Regions from separate parts of the Homo sapiens genome. Here all the other regions are linked to region 7. The links are contacts of gene promoters, found by promoter capture Hi-C in blood cells and fetal thymus (Javierre and others, 2016). All regions are on one chromosome and are shown on one strand. Each heading gives the region's core, a stretch centred on a gene start or on the middle of the fragment in contact. The rest is flanking DNA. Distances are from core to core; before and after follow the strand shown. Region 1 has its middle 15 kb from the start of ZNF709. Region 2 overlaps ZNF791 (zinc finger protein 791). Region 3 has its middle 29 kb from the start of ZNF564. Region 4 overlaps ZNF490 (zinc finger protein 490). Region 5 overlaps ZNF709 (zinc finger protein 709). Region 6 has its middle 2.2 kb from the start of ZNF563. Region 7 holds the start of ZNF823 (zinc finger protein 823).

The links. The method cuts DNA at HindIII sites, captures the fragments that hold promoters and counts their contacts. A CHiCAGO score of 5 or more calls a contact.
Region 1: a fragment that was not itself captured here is called in contact with the fragment with the promoter of ZNF823 in region 7 in 1 of 17 cell types (neutrophils); the score reaches 6.6 in neutrophils.
Region 2: a fragment that was not itself captured here is called in contact with the fragment with the promoter of ZNF823 in region 7 in 1 of 17 cell types (erythroblasts); the score reaches 5.2 in erythroblasts.
Region 3: a contact is called between a fragment that was not itself captured here and the fragment with the promoter of ZNF823 in region 7, in 1 of 17 cell types (M1 macrophages). The highest score is 5.6, in M1 macrophages.
Region 4: a contact is called between a fragment that was not itself captured here and the fragment with the promoter of ZNF823 in region 7, in 1 of 17 cell types (neutrophils). The highest score is 5.6, in neutrophils.
Region 5: a fragment that was not itself captured here is called in contact with the fragment with the promoter of ZNF823 in region 7 in 1 of 17 cell types (non-activated CD4 T cells); the score reaches 5.1 in non-activated CD4 T cells.
Region 6: a contact is called between a fragment that was not itself captured here and the fragment with the promoter of ZNF823 in region 7, in 1 of 17 cell types (total CD8 T cells). The highest score is 5.0, in total CD8 T cells.

The regions. Positions count from the first base shown.
Region 1 is chr19:12,498,298-12,501,294 of GRCh38, forward strand. No RefSeq gene overlaps it. Among named protein-coding and RNA genes, the nearest start is that of ZNF709, 15 kb to the left of the region's middle. The HindIII fragment of the contact is 4,354 bases long and covers 1-2,997 here.
Region 2 is chr19:12,631,534-12,634,390 of GRCh38, forward strand. ZNF791 (zinc finger protein 791) reads left to right here. Exons shown (of 4, transcript NM_153358.3): 4 at 1-2,301. It overlaps LOC105372279 (a long non-coding RNA gene), which reads right to left. Exons shown (of 4, transcript XR_007067142.1): 4 at 1,606-2,857. Among named protein-coding and RNA genes, the nearest start is that of ZNF791, 22 kb to the left of the region's middle. The HindIII fragment of the contact is 1,798 bases long and covers 707-2,504 here.
Region 3 is chr19:12,521,467-12,524,274 of GRCh38, forward strand. No RefSeq gene overlaps it. Among named protein-coding and RNA genes, the nearest start is that of ZNF564, 29 kb to the right of the region's middle. RefSeq lists a silencer at 569-863. The HindIII fragment of the contact is 5,681 bases long and covers 1-2,808 here.
Region 4 is chr19:12,575,460-12,578,252 of GRCh38, forward strand. It overlaps ZNF490 (zinc finger protein 490), which reads right to left. Exons shown (of 5, transcript NM_020714.3): 5 at 641-2,793. Among named protein-coding and RNA genes, the nearest start is that of LINC02926, 25 kb to the left of the region's middle. The HindIII fragment of the contact is 7,779 bases long and covers 1-2,793 here.
Region 5 is chr19:12,461,318-12,464,592 of GRCh38, forward strand. It overlaps ZNF709 (zinc finger protein 709), which reads right to left. Exons shown (of 4, transcript NM_152601.4): 4 at 1-3,275. The coding sequence ends at 2,679. Among named protein-coding and RNA genes, the nearest start is that of ZNF709, 22 kb to the right of the region's middle. The HindIII fragment of the contact is 3,846 bases long and covers 1-3,275 here.
Region 6 is chr19:12,334,393-12,337,198 of GRCh38, forward strand. It overlaps a transcript of ZNF563 not described here. Among named protein-coding and RNA genes, the nearest start is that of ZNF563, 2.2 kb to the left of the region's middle. RefSeq lists an enhancer at 1-162. The HindIII fragment of the contact is 248 bases long and covers 1,244-1,491 here.
Region 7 is chr19:11,737,693-11,740,517 of GRCh38, forward strand. It overlaps ZNF823 (zinc finger protein 823), which reads right to left and starts at 1,254. Exons shown (of 4, transcript NM_001080493.4): 1 at 1,125-1,254. The coding sequence starts at 1,127. RefSeq lists enhancers at 628-757, 1,148-1,227 and silencers at 828-977, 1,238-1,432. The HindIII fragment of the contact is 8,001 bases long and covers 1-2,825 here.

The DNA of each region.
Region 1 (2,997 bases), core at 378-2,877, 760 kb after region 7:
AAGACTTTAATAGTAAAATATAGTGCAGATAAATATCTTCGTTCATTTTATTTTTTTATTTTTTATTTTTTTTGAGACGGAGTTTTACTCTTGTTGCCCAGGCTGGAGTGCAATGGCACAATCTTGGCTCACAGCAACCTCCACCTCCCAGGTTCAAGTGATTCTCCTGCCTCAGCCTCCCGAGTAGCTGGGATTACAGGCATGTGCCACCATGCCCAGCTAATCTTTTTGTATTTTTAGTAGAGATGGGGTTTCTCCATGTTGGTCAGGCTGGTCTCGAACTCCTGACCTCAGGTGATCTGCCTGCCTCGGCCTCCCAAAGTGCTGGGATTACAGGCGTGAGCCACCGTGCCCGGCCTTTTTAATGTATATTTTTAGACAGGGTCTTGCTCTGTCACCCAGGATGGAGTACAGTGGCACGATCGATCATAGCTCACTGCAGCCTCAGCCTCCCCTGCTCAAGTGATCCTCCCAACTCAGCCTCCTGAGTAGCTGGAACTACAGGCACATACCACCATGCCTGGCTAATTTTTGTATTTTTTGTAGAGGCAGGGTTTCACCAACCGGCAGGGTTGCCCGGGCTGGTCTTGAACTCTTGAGTTCAAGTGATCCTCCTAGCTCGGCCTCCCAAAGTGCTGGGATTACAAGTGTGAGCCACTGCACCAGGCCTCCATTCATTTTAGAGAGATAATACATGTGAAGGTTAAAAAAAAAAATCTATGAGACAGGAAAATCTAACATAAGACTCACTGTCAAGCATATCCTGGTTCATTCCAGGATTCTTGCTCCAGCCACCCCGCCCTTCGTAAAAACTTTTGGTAATTCCTTGTGCATCCTATTAGTGTTTCTTTATTAAAACAAGCAATTGCAGGCCAGGCGCGGTGGCTCACACCTGTATTCCCAGCACTTTGGGAGGCCGAGGCAGGCGGATTACCTGAGGTCTGGAGTTCGAGACCAGCCTGACCAACATGGAGAACCCTTGTCTCTACTAAAAATACAAAATTAGCTGAGCGTGGTGGCGGGTGCCTGTAGTCCCAGCTACTCAGGAGGCGGGCGCCTGTAGTCCCAGCTACTCGGGAGGCTGAGGCAGGAGAATCACTAGAACCCAGGAGACTGAGGTTGTGGTAAGCTGAGATTACGCTATTGCACTCCAGCCTGGGCAACAAGAGTGAAACTCCGTCTCACACAACAACAACAACAAAAACAAGCAATTGCAAATGCATGTTTTTCTTATCCATGTTTGCTCTTGTAATGAGTAGTTGGACTCCACCCTTTCTGGTATTTGACTGTTGGCAGATTCAGTGTCAACCCCCCTCTTCTTTCTAACAGCTGCCCACTGTCAATGGAATCACCAAACTCTCAAATATTTTAAGGCTTTATTCTGAGTCAGTATGAGTGACCACGGCCCAGAAAACGCAGTCTCAAGAAGTCCTGAGAAAGTGCACCAGTGGCAGCCAGGTTACAGTTATTTGGTATTTTTGAGACAGGGTCTCACTCTGTCGCCCAGGCTGGAGTGCAGTGGCACAATCTCAGCTCACTGCAACCTCAGCCTCCCAGGTTCAAGCAATTGTTGTGCCTCAGCCTCCTAAGTAGCTGGGATTACAGGCCTGCGTCACCATGCCTGGCTAAATTTTTTGTATTTTTAGTAGAGATGGGGTTTTGCCCTGTTGGCCAGGCTGGTCTTGAACTCCTGGCCTCAAGTGATCTGCTGGCCTCAGCCTTCCAAAGTGCTGGGATTACAGGCACGAGCCACAGCACCCAGCTACAGTTTGGTTTTATGCATTTTAGAAAGACAGGAGTTGCAGGCAGACATAAATCAGTACATGGAAGGTAGGCATTGATTTGGCCTGAAAAGGTAGAATATCTTGAAGCGGGGGCTTACAGGTTATAGGTAGACTCAGAGGTTCTTTGATTTACAGTTGGCTAAAGGAGTAAACATTTGGAGTCATTAGATAAGAATGAATGTTTGGGCCGGGCGCGGTGGCTTATGCCTGTAATCGCAGCACTATGGGAGGCCGAGGCGGGTGGATCACCTGAGGTCAGGAGTTCGAGACCAGCCTGGCCAACATGGAGAAACCCTGTCTCTACTAAAAATATAAAATTAGCCAAGCGTGGTGGTGGCGCCTGTAATCCCAGCTACTCGGGAAGCTGAGGCAGGAGAATCACTTGAACCTGGGAGGCGGAGGTTGTGGTGAGATCATGCCATCGCACTCCAGCCTGGGCAATAAGAGCGAAACTTTGTCTCAAAAAAAAAAAAGGAATGTTTAAGGAAGACAGCTGGGCTCAGGAGCCTATAATCCCAGCACTTTGGGAGGCTGTGGCACACAGATTGCATTAGGCTGGGGACAGTGGCTTATGCCTGTAATCCCAACACTCTGGGAGCCCAAGGCAGGTGGATTACTTGAGGCCAGGAGTTCAAGACCATCCTGGCCAACATGGTGAAACCCTGTCTCTACTAAAAATACAAAAATTAGCTAGGTGTGGTGTGTGTGCCTGTGGTCCCAACTATTTGGGAGGCTGAGGCAGAAGAATCCCTTGAGCCCGGGAGGTGGAGGTTGCAGTAAGCTGAGATTGCGCCACTGCACTCCAGCCTGGGTGACAGAACGAGACTCCATCTAAAAAAAAAAGTAAAAATGAGGTCGGGCGCAGCAGCTCACGCCTGTAATCCCAGCACGTTGGGAGGCCGAGGAGGGCGGATCATGAGGTCAGGAGATCGAGACCATCCTGGCTAACACGGTGAAACCCCGTCTCTACTAAAAATACAAAAAATTAGCTGGACGTGGTGGCGGGCGCCTGTAGTCCCAGCTACGCAGGAGGCTGAGGCAGGAGAATGGCGTAAACCTGGGAGGTGGAGCTTGCAGTGAGCCAAGACTGCACCACTGCACTCTAGCCTGGGCGACAGAGTGAGACTCCATCTCAAAAAAAAAAAAAAAAAAAAAAAGTAAAAACGATTAGCTGGGTGTGGCAGCATATGCCTATATTCCCCACTACATGGAT
Region 2 (2,857 bases), core at 356-2,855, 890 kb after region 7:
CCAGCCTGGCCAAGACGGTGAAACCCCATCTCTACTAAAAATACAAAAATTACCTGAGCGTGGTGGCATGCACCTGTAATTCCAGCTACTTGGGAGGCTGAAGCAGGAGAATCATTTGAACCTGGGAGGTGGAGGCTGCAGTGAGCTGAGATTGTGCCACTACACTCCAGCCTGGGCAACAGAGCAAGACTCCATCCCACACACCAAAAAAAAGTTAAAAATTTTTTATCACTGGCTCATTCTTCAAGTACATCTCTGGACTATGAATTGTAACTTAACTACTTTTCCAAGAAGTCTTGGAAGTGAGATAATTCTGTAAGTACTCTTTAAGCAGTGGTCAAAAGTTTAAAAGGTTGTGTTTTCTCATTAAATCAGTTAGTAAAACTTTTCTCTTTCTCTTGATGTCTTGATTCATGAGTAAACTGAAGTGTATTTTTTTTTTTTCGAGACGGAGTCTTGCTCTGTTGCCCAGGCTGGAGTTCAGCGGTGTGATCTCGGCTCACTGCAAGCTCCGCCTCCCGGGTCCACGCCATTCTCCTGCCTCAGCCTCCCCAGTAGCTGGGACTGCAGGCGCCCGCCACCATGCCCAGCTAATTTTTTTTGTATTTTTAGTAGAGATGGGGTTTCACCGTGTTAAGCCAGGATGGTCTCAATCTCCTGACCTCGTGATTCGACCGCCTCAGCCTCCCAAAGTGCTGGGATTACAAGCTTGAGCCACCGCACCCGGCCTGAAGTGTATTTTTTTTTTCTTTTAAAGACCAGTGTTAGTAGAAGTGTATTTTTAATATACAATTAGTTTTAATTTGTGTATAGTTTTTCAGTTGTTCTCTGAATAAAGAGATTGTTGAATACTGACACACTGTAACTAGGATTTTTCCTACTGGCCTCATGTGGAAGGTGGTGCATATATTACCCATTATATATTTATTTCACCTTTTCCGAAAAACTGCTTTTTAAATTTCTTGGCCAGACACGGTGGCTCACTCCTTTGTAATTCCAGCACTTTGGGAAACCAAGGCAAGCAGATCACTTGAGGTCAGGAGTTCGAGACCAACCTGGCCAACATGGTGAAATCCCATCTCTACTAAAAATACAAAAATTAGCTGGGCATGTTGGAGGGCACCTGTAATCTCAGCTACTTGGGAGGCTGAGGCAGGAGAAATGCTTGAACCTGGAAGTCAGAGGTTGCAGTGAGCCAAGATCACACCACTGCACTCCAGCCTGGACAACAGAACGAGACTCCATATCAAAAAAATTAAATTAAAATATAATAAATTTCTTGCCGGGCGCAGTGGCTCACACCTGTAATCCCAGCACTTTGGGAGGCCGAGGTGGGCGGATCACGAAGTCAGGAGATTGAGACCATCCTGGCTAATACAGTGAAACCCCGTCTCTACTATAAATACAAAAAATTAGCTGGGCATGGTGGCGGGCGTCTGTAGTCCCAGCTACTCAGGAGTCTGAGGCAGGAGAATGGTGTGAACCCGGGAGGCGGAGCTTGCAGTGAGCCGAGATCGTGCCACTGCAATCCAGCCTGGGCAGCAGAACGAGACTCCATCTCAAATAAATAAATAAATAAAATGAATTTCAGCTAGAAGAGCCTTATTCCATTTTCCTTTTTATTAAACATCTGGCATAAGTTGGTAAGTATGTGAAGTTTATCATATATTCTTATGCGAATTATTATTTTCGCCTTTTTTTTATAATTCTGTCTGGGATTTGAATAGTAGAGTTTGAATTCAGGAAGGACACCTGTGATAGGACAATAAAATCTAGAGCTGGACGTGGCCCTCCTGCTACCTGTCGACACAGGTAAATTTCCTAGAATCTGTTCCCTTTATAGATCCATGTTGAAATTCACTTATAGCCTCACTTGCATGAGATTTGCCAGGCAGAAGTGAAGAAGACATTAGTCAGGTATTGGAACCCCACCATACAGGGAGACAGCCTGCTTCCTGCTCATTTTCCTGGTTATTTTCTCTGCCAATCAAAAGTATCCTGAAAACACCCTGAGCTGCTTGACTTCCATTCTCAAAGAGATGTGTTGGTTTCCACAGTTGTCTCCACAAGCTCCGCATCAAAGATCCACGTACAGTTTGGATTTTCCTTCTAGCCTTCATGTGTGGCCCAAGCATCTATTTCAGACTGTCATGGTTGGCATTGTTCTCTGAGGTTCTGTCTTCCCTTTGTGTTTCTATGAGCTTTAATTTGTATGGTTCTTGTTCTGTTAATGCCACTAGGGACTATGTATTCCTGATTCCACCATGACAGCTACAGTAAAACAGTAAAAAAAAAAAAAAACAACTATATGGGAGTTTGTTCTCTTACTGCATTATACAGTGACTACTCTCCCCCATCCTTCCATTTGAGAATAATCACCTTCCTCATATCAGACAAATTGTGGGTGTTTCCAACTATTCCTGAATATTCTCCATCGGTTTATTTTCATTTATGTTTGGTTGTATGCAACTAAAATAATGCATTTTTTATTTATTTGAAGCAAAAGCTTCTTAGATGTTTCTTAGAAATATTTTGTTAACTGTTTCCAAACAACATGTATACTATCAAATATTATCATCATCTGGGTGCAGTGGCTCATGGCTGTAATCCCAACAATTTGGGAGGCTGAGGCAGGATTGCTTGAGGCCTGAAGTTGGAGACCAGCCTGGGCAACATAGTAAGACCCCATCTCTATTAGTTCAAAAACAAATAATTGTCTTCCCCGTTTCCTGAAAGGCTATATTAAAATATCCCATTACAGTTATGAATATTCAGATCAACTTTGTCATTTTGTCAAGATACATTCTGACTCAATATTAGCATGTGCATAAATGTTCTGGTATTTTTCCCTTAGATG
Region 3 (2,808 bases), core at 160-2,659, 780 kb after region 7:
CCATACCACCCAAAGCAATTTGCAGATTCAAGTGTGATCCCTATCAAAATACAAGAGCCATACTTCACAGAAATCGAAAAAATTATCCTAAAATTCATATGGAACCACAAAAATAGCCAAAGCAATCTTGAGTATGACTTCACAATAGACTACAAATCTAAAGTAACCAAAAAAGCACCGTACTGGCATAAACATAGACAGACCAGTGGAACAGAATAGAGAAACCAGAAATAAATTCACACACTTACCAACGATTTTTGACAAAGGTGCCAAAAACACAGACTGGAGAAAGGACAGTCTCTTCAATGAATGGTGATGGGAAAACTGGATTATCAACATGCAGAACATTGAAACTGGACCCCTATCTTTCACCATATACAAAAATCCACTCAAAATGGATTACGGACTTACATGTAAGACTTGAAACTGTAAAACTACTAAAGGAAAACAGTAAAATTCTACATGACCTTGTCTGTGCAAGGACTTTGTGGATAAGAACTCAAACACACGGGCAGCAAAAGCAAAAACAGACATGAGATTACATCAAACATCTCAATCCCAGCATTATCTCACTCATTCCACCTCTGGGAGTTACTCTGGGGCAGTCTCTGGCTGGATTCATCTTTCTCTGTGCTCTGCACAGACCTAGTACCAAGGGGACTAGAAGCAGCATTTACTTGTTCACTAAAAAAGGGGTATCTGCAGGAAGGTGCTGCAGTTCAGGCTGTGGCCACGCTGGGGCATCAGTAGACAGGTAAAATGTAGTAAGATAACCCACAGAAGGTGCATCGTGACGTGCTTGACAGTAATTCTGTCTGAAGCGTTTTGTTTTGCTTTGTTTTGTTTGAGACAGGGTCTCACTCTGTCACACAGATTGAAGTGCGGTGGCATGATCTCAGCTCACTGCAATCTCCGCTTCCCAGGTTCAGGCGATTCTCCTGTCTCAGCCTCCCGAGTAGCTGGAATTACAGGCGTGTACCACCACACCCGGCTGATTTTTATATTTTTAATAAGAGACGGGGTTTCACCACGTAGGCCAGGCTGGTCTTGAACTCCTGACCTCAAGCTATCTGCACACCTCGGCCTCCCAAAGTACTGGGATTACAGGCGTGAGCCACTGTGCCTGGGCATAAAGTGTTTCCATTAGCAGTACTCATGTTGCGGTATTATTGTCATCATCATCATTTTCATAAAGTAGAAAGTAAAACTTCTCTCAATGGTACCCATAATTTACACTGAAGATGTAACTATTCCTTGAGAACAAGATAGAACCTGGCCTGGGAAACAGCACTAATGCTTGTAAATTAGTTCTGTGACAACTATTCTGATTTCTTCTATGGTTGCTTATTCTTCCATACCATGTAAGTAAATTCCGTGATTATTAGTTTTGGGTGATTCATGCTTTCCCCACTAGAAAGAACAATTTGGTTTATTACGCTATCTTCCACCCGTTTCTCCAACACCAGTCACTATTTCAGTCAGAGCATGAAGAAAAATAATTTTGGAAATGGAAACCTGATGTTCTGCCATTTAAAGGTACTTCATGAAATCCACTCCAAGAGGGATCACTTGCTTCATTTCCTTGCAGAGTTGTTTTTTGTTTTTTTTTTTTTTTTTGCGATGGGGTCCCACTCTGTCGCCCAGGCTAGAGTGCAGTGGTGCAATCTTGGCTCACTGCAACCTCCGCCTGCTGGGTTCAAGCAATTCTCCTGCCTCAGCCTCCTGAGTAGCTGGGATTACAGGCGTCAGCCACCATGCATGGCTAATTTTTCGTATTTTTAGTAGAGTTGGGGTTTCACCATGATGGCCAGGCTGGTCTCAAACTCCTGACCTCGTGATCCATCCGCCTTACCCTCCCAAAGTGCTGGATTACAGACATGAGCCACTGTGCCTGGCCCATTTATTTCTTTATTGTGCAAGCAGTGACTTATTTATCCACTGCTTTTTTTTTTTTTTTTTTTTGAGATGGAGTCTGGCTCTGTCACCTAGGCTGGAGTGCAGTGGCGTGATCTCAGCTCACTGTAACCTCTGCCTCCCAGGTTCAAGCAATTATCTTGCCTCAGCCTCCCAAGTAGCTGGGATTACAGGTGTGCACCACCACACCCAGCTAATTTTTCTGTTTTTAGTGGAAATAGGGTTTCGCTGTGTTGGCGAGGCTGGTCTCGAACTCCTGGCCTTAAGTGATCTGCCTGCCTCGGACTCCCAAAGTGCTGGGATTACAGACATAAGCCACCACACCAGGCCTGGCTCTCCATTTCTTGAACACCACCTTTACCCCAGGTACAGAATTAGTGGTAAATAGTTACACATTACCTATTACATAAACTTTCCATACCTAAGAAGTTCTCTCCCACCTTTTCTGGACACTATATGCTGCTATTTCTTCTCATATTCTTAAAGATTTCCGAGCAAAGAATTTCTATTTGCTTAAATTATCAGATATATATTTGATATACATGTCTGTGAATAGTGTGCAGAGGAAATTAAAAGTATCCCTCTTCAATAAAGGGAAGTGGTTATCATAGGCCCTGGGTCTGGGAGTGAGGTCCAGGTCTACAGTGAAGGGGGGAGGAGACAGGGAAGTCAATCCTGGGGATCAAATCTAAATGCCTACTAAAATCCAAATGGACTGTGTAGGAACAGGTCCCTCATGGATAGAAAAACGAAAAAAACAGTGCTGAGAACAAGTAGGAAAGAGACCTAGAGACTAGGCGCAGTGGCTCACGCCTGTAACCCCAGCACTATCGGAGGCCGAGGCGGACAGATCACTTGAGATCAGGAGTTCAAGACCAGCCTGGCCAACATGGC
Region 4 (2,793 bases), core at 30-2,529, 840 kb after region 7:
GTTTGTTCGGCCTCAGCAATGGAACACAGAGCAGCAAGCAGCAGCAGCTCAAAGAGCATGCTGGCCACCAGGTAGCAGAGCAGGTTAGCACCTGAGAGAAAGGGAAAGCTGACCCATTGCATGGTGACCAACATCTAGACATCCTGCTGACAGTGCCAACTGTTACGGTTGCCTGAAAAGGTGTGCTTCAGAGGTTGACACCGAGAGCTATGTGGTGCACACACACACCGAGAGTATGAAAAGGCTTATTACAAAAATGAGGTATCAGAGAGAACAATGCAGGGCTCTCAAGCAAGTGTGACATGGCGTGAGAGCAAGGAAGATGGCATTCCTGTCCCTTATGAGTACTGATGCAAAAATCTTGAAATAAATGCCAGCAAAGCATATAAAGCAATATATTCAAAGCATTATGCAATATAACCAAGTGAGATTTGTCCCTGGAATGTAAGGATGGTTCACCATATGGAAATTGATCAGTGGAATACACCACATTAGGAAATGACGGAAAAATGACAGTCTCAATTGATGCAAAAAAGCATGACATAATTCAACACCCATTTATGATTAAAAATCTGCAACAAACAAGGAATATAATTTACTCAAATTGCTACAAGGCATATATGAAAAACTCAATAAAATCTTTGATGGTGAAAAACCATATTTTTAATATCTAATATCAGAAACAAGGATATTTGCTCTCACCAGCTCCATTCAGTGTTAAGGGGGGTGCTCCCAGGGAAATCAGGCAAGAAAATGCAAGCATTCCAGCCGGGCCTGGTGGCTCAAGCCTCTAATCCCAGCACTTTGAGAGGCCGAGGCAGGCAGATCACAAGGTCAGGAGGGCGAGACCATCCTGGCCAACATGGTGAAACCCCGTCTCTACTAAAAATAAAAAAACTAGCTCGGTATGGTGGCACGCGCCTGTAATCCCAGCTACTCAGGAGGCTGAAACAGGAGAATTGCTTGAACCTGGGAGGCAGAGATTGCAGTGAGCCGAGATCATGCCACTGCAGTCCAGCTTGGTGACAGAGCGAGACTGTGTCTCAAAAAAACAACAAACAAACAAAATAACCAGCCAGGCAGAGTGGCTCACGCCTGTAATCCCAGCACTTTGGGGAGACCGAGGTGGGTGGATCACAAGGTCAGGAGATTGAGACCATCCTGGTCAACATGGTGAAACCCCATCTCTACTAAAAATACAAAAAAATTTAGCTGGTTGTGGTGGCACGCGCCTATAGTCCCAGCTACTCAGGAGGCTGAGGCAGGAGAATTGCTTGAACCTGAGAAGTGGAGGTTGCAGTGAGCCAAGATTGTGCCACTGCACTCCAGCCTGGCAACAGTGAGAATCCATCTCAAAAAAAAAAAAAAAAAAAAAAACCTAAAAGCATTCCATATTTAAAAATATATATAAATATATATACACACAGCCCTCTAGACAAATATACAAAAATCACACACGTTATCACTGTACATACAGGTGGACAGACACAAATTCACAAACCCACAGGTGTAACAGCCCAGATACTAAAAGATTCTCCCAAATAGAAGGACCCCAGGTGTTCTGATCTCTTCTCCAGGTTTCTCTGGCTCCTCGGGAATAACCACCACAGTGCCTTATATATCCTTGCTTGCTTTCGTGTCTTCCAGAATGCCAGGATCAAGGGGACAGAGATATTAGCACAGCTTTGTTGACTACACCTATTAGAGGGAGTTACACAGAGGAAAATACTTACTGAATATTAGGACTCACACAGACACATACACAAAAGGGTTTTACAAAAACATCATCATAGACCCACATATACTTGTCCTTCAAAAAGTGAATGTTCTCACTCCCATTCCTGTAGCAGAGATACCCCTTAGTTCCCCAATACCTATCACAAAAGATGGCTCCTTGAGCCCATTCTGACAGTGAAGGAATCTCGAACTTCCTGACCTCCCACAGTACAATAATCATCTCTCTACAAAAGCACAACATGGCAGCTCAAGAATGTGAAAGGACCTGAAATGGGTTGAGTAATAATGTTCCAACCCCTCATACTACCATAAATGTTCCTGGTGAGAGAAGCGAATGTTCCTGGTGAGAGAAGCGAAGGTGTGCATCTCCTGGCTCAGCCACCAGGTCCTCCACTGCATCTCCACAGTAGCCGTCACTTCCACTGAGGCCTCATCTGCCAGCAAACCTTGCTCCAGTCGGCCTCTGGACCCTAGTATCTTCACCGTGGTTTTGGATGCTGCCACCTGACCCATCCCTGCTGTTGGGGGAGGGTGGAGGCCAGAGGCCTAAAGAGTTCCGACCCGAGCGACACAAAGATCACTTCTGGGACCCACCCAGGGAGACTGTTGTTACGAGGGTGGATGGTGACCTGGTTTCCCTCAATGCTGCCACCTCCCTTCTAAAACACACTGACTTGCTAAGAAAAGGGGGGACTGACTCCAACAAAGGACAGACCCGACCCCTATCGTGCCTATGCAATTCAGAAAACGGAGAATTCGGAGGCTCCAGCAAGCAGTTTATTGGGAGTTGAGTTCACCTTGCCTTGTGATGTGAAGCAAGGTAGTTCCATGGCTTGTGAACCCTGACACCAGCACCTCCCATACACAACAGAGCTGGAGCGCTGCAGGGTGGGTCCTTTTCCAAGAAGAGCTAAGTGCTAGTCTTAGCGGGAGGCTAGGAAACCAGTCCTGGAGCAGGATGCATGTGACATGCACTGACGTGAGAAGGCCGGAGCATCATCAGTGCATATGCCGCTGAATATCTCAGGGTAGAATGTGCCAGAAAACAGGGAAAGC
Region 5 (3,275 bases), core at 652-3,151, 720 kb after region 7:
ACACATGGTTTTTAATCACATATAATGAAACAAAATTGAAAATGTACTGAGAGATGACATTCAACTGTAATAGGAAACACCGACAATCTGCTTGATATTAGGAAGGTGCTTATTCTTACACTGTAGGACTGGGTAAGTGCATTCCCTGCACAGTGCAGTGGAGAAGCAGACACCCATGTAGTTCTTTTTGACTGCACCACTGTAGTTGTCACGGTGGAATCAGAAACACATAGTCACTGGTACTGTTAACAAAACATGGTGTTTATTACATAAATAATACCTTGGATAAATTCAACCTAGAGATGAGGTGAGTCAGAGCATCAGAGAATATTCCCAACCTTAAGAGTCTAAATGGTTGCCTGGTGGACACATTAGAGTTTCTAGGAAAATCCAAACTGCAGTGCATCTTTGAGTAGAACTTTTGAAGACAATTTGTGGAAAACTACATCTTTGAAAATATGGCAGCTGGGGCCATGCACAGTGGCTCACGCCTGTAATCTCAGCACTTTGGAAGGCCAAGGTGGGCAGATCATGAGGTCAGGAGTTTGAGACCAGCCTGGCCAACAATGATGAAACCCTGTCTCTACTAAAAATACAAAAAAAATTTAGCTGGGCTTGGTGGTGGGCACCTATAATCCCAGCTACTTGGGAGGCTGGGGCAGGACAATTGCTTGAACCCAGAAGGCAGAGGTTGCAGTGAGCCAAGATCGTACCACTGCACTCCAGCCTGGGCGACAGAGCAAGACTCCATCTCGGAAAAAGAAAGTAAAGAAAGAAAAGAAAGGGAAAGGGAAAGAAAGAAGGAAGGAAGGAAGGAAAATATGGCAGTCAAGCAGTTAGTGGTGGTTCTAAGAATACTCTCAATTGGCAGAGCAAAGGATCAGGACAATGTGGTGGAAGCAGGTGTCCCTGAAGCTCCTATGCATCCATCTGTCTCCACATATGGTGGCTATAAAACCTGACTAATGCTTTCTTCACTTCTGCCTTCCATATCTCCTGCAAGTAGGCTATTGGTGAATTATACCGTGGAGCCATAAAAGGTTAGATTATAGAAAACATAGGTCACAACATAACCCATGTTAACACAATCCAGGACAGCCATTTCCAGCTATAGGTTATATGGTTCTATCTCAGATCTCTCTTATTAATACAAAGTCTATTATTCAAATCACAGCCAGAAGGAATTACAAACAGCAAACAGAAGATGAAAATAATAATTCCAATGAGAGAGTATACTGTATGATAAACTTTGCAGACTCAAAAATTTATTATGATTATTTTTTAGCATAAAAAATAGAAAAAAGGGTACTCTGTCTTCCTCTAAAAAAGCCTCTTTTGGTCAGAAAGATGAAATACATATAATGATATCTAGTACCTGCCACATAAGGCCAGTAGGAAATCCTAAAAATTACCAAATTGTCATTTTTTGATGGCCCATTACAGCACAACTAAAAAATACATAAAAATCAAAACTGCTAGCTTATTATAAATACACTTCAATTCACTCATGAATCTAACAGACTTCAATATGGAAAGACAAAATTTCAGAAACTGATTTAATGAAAAAATACTATCAATTCAACTTGTGTACAACTGTATAAGAGCTTACAGAATTATCTCATCTCAGTGTTCTTTTGTGAAAGTAATAGAAATCCATAATTCAGAGATCCATTTTAAGAATCAGTAACTGATAATATGTTTTATCACATTTCTGACATGTTGTGAATTTTCTAGAACAATATACATGAATTAATTTGCATCAGGCTTTCCCATATTATCTACATTTATACAGTACCTCCCTAGTGGGAGTTTCAACATGAGATTGAAGTTTCACACATAAGGGAGTATCACATGAGCATTTGTTAAAATGGAAAACATTGCTATATCTCACTTTTATAGGATTTCTATCCAGTCTGCATTCTCACATATTAGTATGTGGGCCAACTGAAGGCTTTCTCACAATGTCTATATTTAAGAAGTCGCTTTCCAGTGTGAGTTTGTTCATGGTTTCCAAGTAAACTAAGACAAATAAAGGTTTTTCTACATTTTTTACATTTATAGGGTTTTCCACATTCTTTACATTTTTAAGGTTATAAATTCTTTACATTTATAGGGCATATGAAAATTCTTTACACTTCATATGCCTTCTCATGGTCCTTAAAAGGTCATATGACCATTGAAGGTTTTCCCACACTGCCTACATTCGCAGGGTTTCCTGTCCAGTATGAATGCTTCCTCATATTCACATGTAAATAACTGAAGGTATTCCCATGTCTTATAGGGTTTCTCTGAAATATGAATAATTTCATGTCTTCAAAAGGAAATGGGGGCCGGGTGTGGTGGCTCACACCTGTAATCCAACACTTTGGGAGGCCAAGGCAGGTGGATCGTCTGAGGTCAGGAGTTCGAGACCAGCCTGGCCAACATGGCGAAACCCCATCTCTACTAAAAATACAAAAATTAAGTGGGCATGGTCGTTCACACCTGTTGTCCCAGCTACTCAGGAAGCTGAGGCAGGAGAATCGCTTGAACCCAGGAGACAGAGGTTGCAGTGAGCTGAGATCACTCTACTGCACTCCAGCCAGGGCAACAGAGTGAGAATTCAACTCAAAAAAAAAAAAAAAAAAAAAGGAAATAGGACAACTGAAAACTTTGCCATATTGCTTATATACATAGGGTTACTCTCCACTATGAACTCTTTCATGTATTCGAAAGGAACGGGAACACTTGAAGGCTTTACCACATTGTTGACATGCATAGGGTTTCTCTCCAGTGTGAGTTCGTTCATGGATTCGAAAGGAACGTGAGCAACTGAAGGCTTTGTCACATTGTTTACATTCATAGGGTTTCACTCCAGTGTGAGTCCTTTCATGCATTCGAACAGAACTAGAACAACTGAAGGCCTTACCACATTGTTTACACTCATAAGGTTTCTCTCCAGTGTGAGTCCTTTCATGTATTCGAATGGAACTGGAACAACTAAACGCCTTACCACACTGTTTACATTCATAGGGTTTCTCCCCAGTGTGAGTCCTTTCATGCATTCGAAAGGAACTGGAACAACTGAAGGCTTTACCACATTGTTTACATTCATAGGGTTTCTCTCCAGTGTGAGTCCTTTCATGCATCCGAAAGGAACTAGAAAAACTAAAGGCTTTACCACACTGTTTACATTCATAGGGTTTCTCTCCAGTGTGAATTCTTTCATGCATTCGAAAGGAACTGGAACAACTGAAGGCTTTACCACACTGTTTACATTCATAGGGTTTCTCTCC
Region 6 (2,806 bases), core at 118-2,617, 600 kb after region 7:
TTGGCAGCCACTCTTAACTGTTGAAATGGAACCCCAGAGTGAACCAAAACCTGGTGATGAGACTGGGACACTGAAGGATTTGACTCTGGGAGCTCAACATACTTCCCTGTGCCCTCTGCAGAGTGTGGAAATGCCCCCACCGTCAAGATGTGCATTTTCACCAACAGGAAAGTTTCATGTAAAGTTAGTTTAAGGGCCCGGGGCGGTGGCTCACGCCTGCAATCCCAGCACTTTGGGAGGCCGAGGCGGGTGAATCACCTGAGGTCACCAGTTGGAGACCAGCCTGGCCAACATGGTGAAACCACATCTCTACTAAAAATACAAAAATTAGCTGGGCATGGTGGCGGGCACCTGTAATCCCAGCTACTCGGGAGGCTGAGGCAGGAGAATCACTTGAACCTGGGAGGCGGAGGTTGCAGTGAGCCGAGATCGTGCCACGGCATTCCAGCCTGGGTGACAGAGTGAGACCTGGTCTCAAAAAAAAAAAAAAAAAAAAAAAAAAGGTTACTTTAAGGTACTGACCTACATAAACTGTCAAATTCATAAACCCTTTACCCAGATTTTCCTAACACATAAATGGTAAATTCTGATTCTATGTGCAGCTTCGTGCTACGTGGAGGCGTGCGCAGGCTGCTGAGGAAGCACCAAAGGGGGCTCCATTTCTCTCCCTTTGCAGCCTTCAGAATGGGCTCGGTGTAGAGTCACTGGTTCAAACTCTGCTGCCCACTCCAGGTGGCTGGGGCTCAGAAAACAATACCCCAAAAAGAAGACCTTGGAAGAAGCCTCAGAAGCAAAAGTTTTTTCTCCACAGAGGGCAGAGGAAAAACTTAGTCCCATTCTTGGGACTCTTAGTCCTACTCTTCTATCCAAGGCTAGCCTTAGAAACTAGAATCTCTCTTCTCCAAAGTGGGTCGTAGAATCCAGAACCCTTTTCCCCTAAATCCAGGCATAAAATCAAAACATACTACTCTAACTTTCCATTGTCCTTTCTGTGTAAAAACTGGCCATAAGCAAATTAACTGTCCAACTTTGTTTGACTGCAGGTCAGGGTGGCCCTGGGGCTTCCCTGGGCCACATTGGAAGAAGATGAATCGTCTTGGGCCACATATAAAATACACTAACACTAACAATAGCTAATGAGCTTAAAAATATATAGCAAAAACAAAAATTCCTAATGTTTTAAGAAAGATCATGAATTTGTGTTGGGCTGCATCCAAAGCCTTCCTGGGCCATGGGTTGGACAAGCTTGCTGTAGGTCATAAGACCCTCCATTTCAGAGTGGGTCCTGCCTCATACTGAGAAGGAAGGAATGCATGCTCAGAAAGGCCAAGAACAATCTAGACACACAGGCCTTGTTGGGTTTCCCCACTCAGTCTGTTAGCATTGGATCATACTCTTTCAATCTAATCACATTTCTACACGGCTGTCCATACATTAAGCCTAAGCATTAAAATGAACAATTTCCTTTGTATCTCTGGGTCTTCATTCTGAAGCTTCCTGGATATACGCGTTAAATAAAATTTGTATGCTTTTCCTCCAATTAATCTGCCTTCTCTCCAATTAATTCAGCAAAACATCAGAGGGCAAAAGGGAATGTTCCCCATGGCCTCTGTAAGAGTCTTCACTTGCTTCTCACCAGCACTGATGAGTTAATTGAAACAAAGACCCTCAATTCCACTGTTTGAATAAAAAATTGACAATCTTGGGTTTCTTCCTGTGTCTATATATAAAGTAGTGGAAAAAATATATATAAGATATTTAATAGGGATTTGGAAACTGGTAAATGGACTGGGCATGGTGCCTTGGGCCTGTAATCCCAGCACTTTAGGAGGCAGGGGCAGGAGGATTGCTTGAGCCCAGGAATTGGAGACCAGTCTGGGCAACACGGGGAGATCTTGGTTCCTCAAAAACAAAACAAGGCCAGGCGCGGTGGCTCACACCTGCAATTCCAACACTTTGGGAGGCTGAGGCGGGCAGATCACAACGTCAGGAGTTCAAGACCAGCCTGACCAACATGGTGAAACCCCGTCTCTACTAAAAATACTAAAAATTAGCTGGGCATGGTGGTGCGTGCCTGTAATCCCAGCTACTCAGGAGGCTGAGGCAGGAGAATCGCGTGAACCCAGGAGGTGGAGGTTGTGGTGAGCTAAGATCGCACCATTGTACTCCAGCTTGGGCGACAGAGCGAGACTCCGTCTCAAAAACAAACAAGCAAACAAAACCAACTGGTAAATAATTATTCTGTTGAGAAACAAACATGCTAACAAACTATTATTTTTACCTTAGCAAACTGTTGTGTAAAACAACTAATTAAATGTGAGCTCTCCTCTCTCCTTGGCTTCAGTCACTCCCTGACCTTCATAGCTCAGGGTTGACATCATGTGCTCTGTGCCTGGGGATGGACATGTCCCATTTATCCATCTGAAACCCCCTCTCAACCCCAGCCCACACCATTGACCCAAACAGTCATATCTGTATCTAAATCCTAAGTATTGTACAAATACATTTTCCTTTTAAGCAAACTGGCCCAGGTTGAATTCACCTGTGGTTCTCATGCCCACAGTTTCATTTATTCATTTGAAACAGTCTTCTCAGATAGTAATGTCTTGGGTGAGGACACATCCATTTTATTTGCTTCTGTTCTTCTTAACCTGTGTCACTACCTGCTCAGTGAGGGCACAGACAGAATATTCTAAGTGACTATCAGCTGCTGTAAATACTGGAGGTCTCAGCACAACCCTGAGAAATCCGCACCAGAGAAAGGATGTGTGAATAATATTAATGTCACCCCTTACCACAACAGTTA
Region 7 (2,825 bases), core at 4-2,503:
ACAATTAAAATAATGCCTCTGTTTGAAATATTGCCTGAGGGACAAAGAGTTCATAAAGTTGCTGGGAATTGATGAGAGACAGTTAGCCTGGGGAAGGCTCTGAAAACCAAGAGATTTGCTGCCAGCCCTAGGAGGAGTTAGGATGAGGGGATAGGGTGGTGGATTTGAGACCCTGCTGCCCACATCTTTGGAAGACTCGGAGGGAAACCGGTCACCTTTGGGAAGAAAGAAGGGACTGGGGAACCCACAGATCACAGCTTCTCTTCCAAAGCACAAAGCCCACACACACGAGTCTGGATTCTGCCTGGTGACCCTCCGTTGTCACCGTGCAGCGTCCTCACCGGGTTCACAGGAACTGCGAGCCAGGCTGGAGGCGAGATTGCAGTTAGATATTAACCAGGTGCCCTCAGCCCCGCTGCCTCACGGGGCCGCCTCCCTGAGAGTCAGGTCACAGCAGACGCTGACCGCCGGCTTCCTCATCGTGCCCGGGGATAAGATCTCTTGAGAGTTGCTCACGGGTCGCCTCAGTTCTTTCTCGGATCCTGAATTGCAGCGGAAAGGCTGGCGCCAACCAGGCTGAAGACCCCACAAGGGAACCCACTCAGCAGAATGCGGTTTCTTCACCTCCAGTCCCAGGAGTCACCTCTCACTTCTCCACCAACCAGCGACCCCACACTCCAGCCGTCCCTGTCCACACCTCTAAACACCCCATCCCCAAACCTCTCAGGGAGGCGGATCTGGGGTGTCCTCCCCTCTCCCCCATTAAACTGTTTCTGCTGCAGCCTTCGGCGTCTCGGTGCAGTGACTCGGGCCGTGAACCTGTGCCGGTTACAACTGCACAATCTGGGGAGACGCGGAGCTGCGGGCGCGGAGCTGCCCAGAGAGGGCGCCGGGGCCGGGGCCGCAGCGGCCGAGCAGGGACGGGACAGGACGCCCGGGGTCCCGGCTGCCGCCCCAGCCCCATCTTGCGGCCCAGGGGACCAAGGGCAGAGCTGCGCCAGGGGCACTGGGATTTGCAGACCCCGGAGTCGCCCAGGGCGAGGCCCGGGTCCCCTCACGGTCGGTTCCGGCCGGTTCCAACCTGCCCCTTCTTTGCCTCGGGACGCCGGGCCCCGCACACTCACCATTTCCCAGCTTCCAGGTGTCCGGGTGTCCTCCTTAAAAGCCAGTGTGGGTCCCAGCGCGACAGACGCTGATACAGACCTTCCAGGGCGTCTCTCTCTCAGCGCCAGAGCCAGGACTCAGAGCGCAGGGGCGTGGAGAAGACTCCGCGGGCTCTTTGAACGTCGCACCCTCCTCCCTGCAGCGTGCCTGATTGACAGTTCTCACAATCCCCGCCCCCTCATCCCTGATTGGATAGTGCTCCAGGTCCCGCCCCTTGGTGGCTGATTGACAGAAGAAGCGATCTCACAGTGCTGAGTGGAGCCGGATGAACAGGTTCCAGGCACGACCCTTGGCAAGGCGGGCTTCCTCCCAACGGAGTGACCTGACCCCTCCCGAAGTGACGTTTGCATTTTAGAATTTCCTGATTGTATTCAGTGGGTTCTTCCTGCTTTTTCCTCCTGGACAGGGACTCACAAGTGTGTGCAGGGAATTCCAGGCTCCCTGTCCAGTGGAGCCATTCCCGGACCTCGGAGCAGGAGGGGAGCCCGGGGCACACAGGCCACCCTGCAGCAGGAGGGAGGGCCTGATGTCCTCCAGGGATCAGGAATTTGGGATGAGGCTGTTGGCGACGTTGCCAAGCCTTTCCCTCACCTTATCTCTCAATCTACTCATTTTCAGCCCAGAAGATAAAAACAGGACAACAAAATAAAATAGTTGAGTATGTGGAAAAACTGGAATTATATGGCAGCAATATTTCATAAAGAATCAAAAGAGAAGAAAAGCAAAAACTTGAACAAGCTCAGAGAAGCAGCCTACTGCACTCACAGTTCACAAGCAGACCCCCTTTCAGGAGGTCAAACATATCCCCAAGCTGGGAAGCCAGGCAATGATTCCTAAAATGGAGCTCCGGGGTGGATCAGAAGCTGGTGATAAGGGAGGGACAATTAAGAATTTTACTCTGAGGTCTCAAAATACCTGTCCCCTCTGCACAGCGTGGAAATGCTCCCTCCTTATGCCATTAAATGTTAATGAATTAAACGCTCCAATCAAAAGCCAAGACATCACACTTTGAATTTGAAAACATTAGCCTTTCTCCATATGTTTATGAAGTAAAAATACTAGACTTAAAAGCGTTATGGCCGGGCGCGGTGGCTCACGCCTGTAATCCCAGCACTTTGGGAGGCTGAGGCGGGTGGATCACCTGAGGTCGGGAGTTTGAGACCAGCCTGACAAACATGATGAAACCCCGTTTCTACTAAAAACGCAAAATTAGCCGGGTGTGGTGGCACGCTCCTGTAATCCCGGCTCCTCAGGAAGCTGAGGCAGGAGTATCGCTTGAACCCGGCAGGCAGAGGTTGCAGTGAGCCGACATCACACCACTGCACTCCAGCCTGGGCAACAGAGCGAGGAAAAAAAAAAACTCCATCTCAAAAAAAAAAAAAAAAAAGCGTTATGAACTAGAAGCTGGTAGCCATGGCTAAATAGAAAGGAGCTGAACATGAGATGTCAATAGATGAAATGAAATCTTCAATCAACTTCTAGAAACTATAGCATTTTCTGCCAGGACAAATGGGCACGTTTAGAAAATGAATGAAAAAAATGACGTCTGAGTATAACCTAATGCATAAATGATACTGTTTCCTTAAAAAAAAATAATAAGCACACACACAGACACACACACACACACTCCCACAGTCTATTATGCTAGAAACTGCTCTCTG